Linked DNA regions of Homo sapiens: region 1 is linked to region 2. The links are contacts of gene promoters, found by promoter capture Hi-C in blood cells and fetal thymus (Javierre and others, 2016). All regions are on one chromosome and are shown on one strand. Each heading gives the region's core, a stretch centred on a gene start or on the middle of the fragment in contact. The rest is flanking DNA. Distances are from core to core; before and after follow the strand shown. Region 1 overlaps ARID5B (AT-rich interaction domain 5B). Region 2 holds the start of ADO (2-aminoethanethiol dioxygenase).

Region 1 (3,386 bases), core at 438-2,937, 750 kb before region 2:
TTAGGGTATAATTCATTAGCTTGGAGTCATTCTAGGGGTGGTTGGTTAGTTGGTTGTTTTTAATTTTGCTTGACTTGGGTGACTGATGAAGTTAAATGTGAAAGCTGATGCCGGATAGTCATAGCTCTCAATAAACAGCAGCCTTTTCCCCCTACTTTCTGTGTAGATCTTAAAAGGAACAAGCTCAGCATCAAGGATGAAATAGAACTTTGATTTGTATCTTGTCTTTTCAAAAGTGTAACCCCCATGGAATCAGGCTAACCCCAGTGTAATCTTTGGATGTTATATTAAATAAGCCTTAAGATCTTCATAAAAATATATTGAAAAGGAAAAGACAGCATGCTGATTTAAATGTATCTGTCAGATTTGTTGAGATTTGAAACTTGCTGGTTGCAGTATTGTTAGTAAATATATGTAATAATGTTTTCCAGCTTGCTGTTGTGAATGCCCCTCTCTCTATAGCTATCTCTCTACTTATCTGTATGGTAATTTGAGAGAATGCCCTTGTCTCTGAATATTTTGTAAAAGAGATGTTTTCAAACATTTCATTACTATGATACCATAAGGGCAGGCATGTCACTTAGGTTTCGGAAAGCAAGATACAAAACAAAAACCAAAGATTGAGCTCAAAGCCTGGCTCAGTTTTTCAGCACCAAATGCTTCTTGTCTAACAACGTGGAAGGACATTTTTCTTATCATGATCCTTTAGAGCTAAGAGCTTCGTGTTACTTCTATTAATTAGACATGTTAAAGCTAAATAGATTAGCTTTGGGAAACGTGTACAGAAATGTATACTCTACCAATATGCAAGCCTTCAGAGAGAGAAGCATGTAATAATGAGGGCTGCCTGCCACAGATCTGTACATTTCTCTGAACAATTAGAAGGGATCACTGTAGTGAGATTCTGGGTCTTTAATAAAGAAACCCATGCAAGTGAAAATGTATATCAATTGTTTTCCATTTGTTTTCAGCGCCAAATCTTAAAGGCAGACCACGCAAAAAGAAACCATGCCCACAAAGAAGAGATTCATTCAGTGGTGTTAAGGATTCCAACAACAATTCCGATGGCAAAGCCGTTGCCAAGGTACGGTCATTCACTCCACGGTATTCATTTCGTTGCATCTTTTTATTTTTGCTTTTTCTCTTTATCTCTCTGTGCCTGTGTCTTGGAGGCAGTTTTCAATTCAGCATCTGACTTTGGTATTCAGAGCTTTTGAAGCTCTATGCTGTGCCTGTTCCTGCCACCTCCCTTCCCCTGGTTGCCGTGGGCTGGGGGAGGTAGGCATTTTGATTAGTCAACAGAAAGACTTCCTACCTCCCAGTTTGGCCTGTTATGAGTAAAGGACAGATGATTAAGCACCCACGTCATTGAGGCTGAGATTTCATAGTGGGTGACACAATGACATAGTTTACTCTGCTTGTGTCAAAAATAGACCAGCTGAACCGTCCTCTTTCTGAATGTGTTCATCTAAATGTGTTTTGGAGATTAACAGAGGATGAAATTAGAAATAGCTAGAATTAATCTTTTTAGTTATGTATTTTTCAAAGTCACTTCTAATTTACATTAGACTAAAATTAAAGATACATAGCAAAATATTTAGATGTATACATATGCCCACAAGCATTTATATACTTTTAAAGATCTCTGTTAACATAGAATGAAAGTAAATTCTACGCTGTTGTTCAAGACCCAGGTCAATTTTTTACCTAAGCATTCTTTGGAATCTTGAAAGTGCATGCATGCCTGAAGTATTTTGCACGACAAAGGGTAAAGTATCACTTTATATTTTTAGACTTACCTTTCTGACTTTTGTGGGCTTGGGTCAGATTTCCATGGTTCTGTTTACTGCATTTAGGTGTTATTTTTGTGCTAAAGACAGCAATCGTCCCTTTAGGATTTTAGTTGACGAACAGATTTCAACTGACACCAGTTTCCAGATCAAATAACTAAACTTCTGAAAATGGGACCATTTTGATTAGTGGTGAATTTGGAAGAGTCTGATGTAGAAAAAAAAAAACATGAGTTAAGTTCTGTGTTGACAGTCTACTGTTTCTCTGCCATGTACTCTACCTCCTTCCCAGTGTAATGAAGTAAATCTTAGACTTTCACATTCTAAAAAATCTTATCTTTAAGCATCATTGTTTCATTAGGAAATTTTAAGGACTTTTTTGCTTAGAATTTCTTCATACTTCTAAGATTCCAAAGGGTTAAGAAGAGATCAACCAGTAGAAATGTGTATTTTCCAGTTTCTTGCTGAAAACAAATCTCTTTCCCTAAAGTTATTGTTGTTTTGCACATTTAACTTTCTGCGAATTAACTCCACATGGATGCCATGAATGACATTTTCTTGTAAGTTGGACACCTCAGCCCTAGAACTATCTACCTAGGACTTTGGTTTCCATCGTCTTGAAGGATGTCAGCAGGAACAGTTCATTCCCTACTATGTAGTTTGCAAGATCCTGCAGAATGGCGCAAGAAGGTTTCAAGACCATAACATTCAGCAGAGCTTGTACTGCCCATGCCTTCTGTTGGTGCCCAGCCCATCCTTCTTGGTTGACAGCATTTGTTTACTCCAGCATATTCTGTACCTGAGCCCGGCAGGATAAAGCTCCTTCCCATGCCACTTGGAATCACCACCAAGGTCTGCTTCTGAGAATTTTACAGAACTCATACAATTGATCTGAAAGAGCAGACCTCCAATGTTTCTTTCCATGGAAGGCAGCTCAGAACTCACTGTTGGGTTCACAAAGCCGAGAAGAACAAGAGCCTGCTATACAGATGGGCCATATTTGATGTTCACTGACTTCTTAACAAGAAGGATAGAAGTCAGTCCTGGGTTTTCTAAGTGACGCCTTTACTCCATCCCCGCAACAGTGCTGCCCGTCAGAATCTTTACAAAGAGATGGATCATTCTTCCACCGTTGGTGTTCAATGGTGAACAGATGAATGTCATGCTGCAGTCAGCTCCTAGGGACTGGTCTAATGGCTTGGCTCTTTTCAGAGTCTTGGATTACAGTCATGCCTTGGCTGCTTCCAGTGGGTCTGGCAAGACCACTTAAGCAAAAAGATCAGTAGGTATGAAGTGTGACGAGCTTGTCTGTTGACACCAACAGGCAGATGTAAAATCCCTACAGAATGAACAAGCCACATCTGGGATGAGGACAGTCATTAAAAAGCATGTGTGTCTTAACATGGTCTTTTCTCATGAAACACTGCAGTAGAGATTATGAGTCTGTGACCATCTAATCATCTGTTGAATTGAAAGCAGCATCTTAGAGGACAGTGAGCTGTTTGACTTTGTGACCAAGACCCATGTGACTGTTTCTTTTTAAAAGTGCCTCAAACAGACCATTTCTAACTAAGCACCAACTTCATGCAGCTCCAC
Region 2 (3,155 bases), core at 255-2,754:
TCTGAATCAAAATCTCTGAGGTGTGACCCCAAGATCTTTATTTTTTAAGCTCTCCAGGGGGTTCTGATGAGTAGGGTTCAGAACTTTTGTTCCCTTAACACCGGCATTCTACAAATGAATAAATTGAGGCCCTAAAAGGGTAGGATTTGCCTAACGACACACAGCTTGTAAGTACACACAGTAGGCTGGAACAACAATATCCTGACTCTCGTTTGGTGCTTTTACACCAATTCAAGCTGCTGTTTTTGGTAAGACTGTACTTATTTCTGCTCTGCTGCTCATGCTTTGCTGGGTACTTAGTATTCACTATCCTACAACTTATTCCCTCATCTGCAATCTGGGAATAATAATAGTGCCTGCCTCTTAAGAGTTGCTGCAAGGATTAAATAGTATAACATTCATTATATAATGCACTTAACACAGTGCCTGGCATATTGTGAGTACTCATTAGCCAGGTTATGTAATCCACTTTAAAAAGTATGCCTATTTTAACTGGAGAGGATTCACTGAACCACTCCAATTACAAAATGTACAAGAAACCCATGTTCAGCTTTGGAATCCAAAAAGACTTTAAACTCAGGGTTAAGTTTAAAGTCATAGTATCTAATGTCTTGCTTTTCTAGTCATTTACTTATGCCAAAAGTTAGTTCACGCCAAGGAGAAGGATGCCTCTGTGTAGTGAAACAATTTCACAATTACTGACTGAACTGACTGTTGCACACCACTATTTCTCCTAGGATGCCTCAGAACCATCTAGTAACTCCATCTCTGGGTGACGACAGGGAATCTGCATTTATAAAAGCCCGCTCCCCCTTCTCAGGCAAACCAAGATTTGATAACCACTAGTATGTTCAGAATCCACGACCACTGTAAATGGCCTCTCAAGTCTCTCCAGCAAAAAGCTATACTGCTCTGTAACCAGAAGAGCAGCGTCATCAGGTCCTGATGCAAACAACAGCTGGGCCCAGCTGGGCCCAGCTGGGCCGAGTAACCTTGATGATCACAGAGGACGGCCTGGACCCCCTCCCCTCCTAGGAAACACAAAATTATAAAAGCGCCCTCCTGCAATTCCCGTGGGAGACAGTGCTGCCTAGGCCGCTACGAGGAGCTAAGGCTGACTCAACAGCCTCCTTCCCAGGGGCAAGGCCAAAGGAAGGCGACCCTGCATGGCTAACCAGGCCCCAGCGCGGCGCCAGAAGGTTAACGACCCTCCCTGCCCCTTTCCTTATGAAGGCCAAGAGCCTCCACTACTCCGGGGGCCAGCTGACGGAAGTGCGTCACTCCACCCTGCGGGGAGTGCCGGGAGTTGTAGTCAAGTGGCTACTAATCTTCCACCCCGATTCATCTTTTCTAAAACAAGAAAAACACCTCTGCATCCTGAAAAAGATCGCTTTATGCCCAACATGTGTAATAGTTCCTCTATTTTCCAATCAACAAACTGAACTATCTCAGAGCTCAAGCGGAAGGCCGGACTACAAGTCCCGGCATGCTCCGCAGGGTCCCCGGGCGCCCGGCCACCGTCGTAGGTGCGGGCCGCATGAATGGAGCGCCGGGCGTAAGGCAAAGCCTGGCACCGTCTGCGCGGCCGCTATCTGCTCCCGGAGCGTGAGTGCGGGGTGTGGGGCGTGCGCGTGCGCGCTCAGAGGGGGCTCAAGGCGAGCGCGCCGGGCAGTTGCGGGCGCGTGGCTGCTGAGGTTGGCGGCGGTGCCGCGCGCCCGACGGGCCGGTGGTTGCGGGGCCTCCCGCCTCGACCCGGGCTGGGGGCAGCCGTGGCGGCCGCCGGGGACCGCAAGGGGCGGAGGAAAGGAGGGGGCCGGTCCCGGCACGCAGAGGAGCAGCCGACCATGCCCCGAGACAACATGGCCTCCTTGATCCAACGGATCGCCCGCCAGGCTTGCCTCACCTTCCGGGGCAGCGGGGGCGGCCGCGGCGCTTCCGATCGCGACGCGGCTTCTGGCCCGGAGGCGCCGATGCAGCCGGGCTTCCCCGAGAACCTGAGCAAGCTGAAGAGCCTCCTGACCCAGCTCCGCGCCGAGGACTTGAACATCGCCCCGCGCAAGGCCACACTGCAGCCGCTGCCGCCCAACCTGCCGCCAGTCACCTACATGCACATCTACGAGACGGACGGCTTCAGCCTGGGCGTGTTCCTGCTCAAGAGCGGCACGTCCATCCCGCTGCACGACCACCCGGGCATGCACGGCATGCTCAAGGTGCTGTACGGCACCGTGCGCATCAGCTGCATGGACAAGCTAGACGCGGGCGGCGGGCAACGGCCGCGGGCCTTGCCGCCCGAGCAGCAGTTCGAGCCGCCGCTGCAGCCCCGGGAGCGAGAAGCCGTGCGGCCGGGCGTGCTGCGTTCGCGGGCCGAGTACACCGAGGCCAGCGGCCCCTGCATCCTCACACCGCACCGGGACAACCTGCACCAGATCGACGCCGTGGAAGGGCCTGCCGCCTTCCTGGACATCCTGGCCCCGCCCTACGACCCGGACGATGGCCGGGACTGCCACTATTACCGGGTGCTGGAGCCGGTCAGGCCCAAGGAGGCCTCCAGCTCGGCCTGTGACCTGCCTCGAGAGGTGTGGCTCCTGGAGACCCCACAGGCCGATGACTTCTGGTGCGAGGGAGAACCCTATCCAGGTCCCAAGGTCTTCCCTTGAAGCCACTGGCGCCCAGGAGCGGTGGGCCGAAGACGTGCCCTACCCTACCACAAGGGCTGTGTCTCTACCCCCTAGCCTGGGCGTTGGATCTACTGGAATGAGCAGCAGCCGCTTCCTCGGCAGCCTTGGGAAGCACGGGCGACTGGACAGCAGCCGCCGGGCACGGTTATGGGGGCGGGGTGGGCGGGGAGGCTAGATTGTTTCCTGGTACTGTCACTGCCACTGGGGCTTTGATTTGGAGGAATGGGGCAGGGGACTATCTGAAGCGCTTCCATCCTAAAGCCATAATGAAAATATCTTCCTCTCTTCCCCATTCTATACAAAATACTAAGTGGTTTTCTTGCTCCCACTCCCTACCCCTTAGTTAAATAGGGTTTATTTTCCACTCATGCCCTTATGCCTTTTTTTCTTATAGTTTTTTAACTTATTGACTGTGCATGACCCAGTGGTTTGAATTGTTTTTAGTTCAAGTCATTGGTAAAAACTAGGTTTAAGGAG

What was found. The method cuts DNA at HindIII sites, captures the fragments that hold promoters and counts their contacts. A CHiCAGO score of 5 or more calls a contact.
Region 1: a fragment that was not itself captured here is called in contact with the fragment with the promoter of ADO in region 2 in 1 of 17 cell types (neutrophils); the score reaches 6.0 in neutrophils.

The regions. Positions count from the first base shown.
Region 1 is chr10:62,049,917-62,053,302 of GRCh38, forward strand. ARID5B (AT-rich interaction domain 5B) reads left to right here. Exons shown (of 10, transcript NM_032199.3): 5 at 972-1,084. Among named protein-coding and RNA genes, the nearest start is that of ARID5B, 150 kb to the left of the region's middle. RefSeq lists an enhancer at 567-1,766. The HindIII fragment of the contact is 5,648 bases long and covers 1-3,386 here.
Region 2 is chr10:62,803,216-62,806,370 of GRCh38, forward strand. ADO (2-aminoethanethiol dioxygenase) reads left to right here and starts at 1,505. Exons shown (of 1, transcript NM_032804.6): 1 at 1,505-3,155. The coding sequence starts at 1,845. The coding sequence ends at 2,657. RefSeq lists enhancers at 1,260-1,519, 1,990-2,109 and a silencer at 1,560-1,809. The HindIII fragment of the contact is 5,397 bases long and covers 1-3,155 here.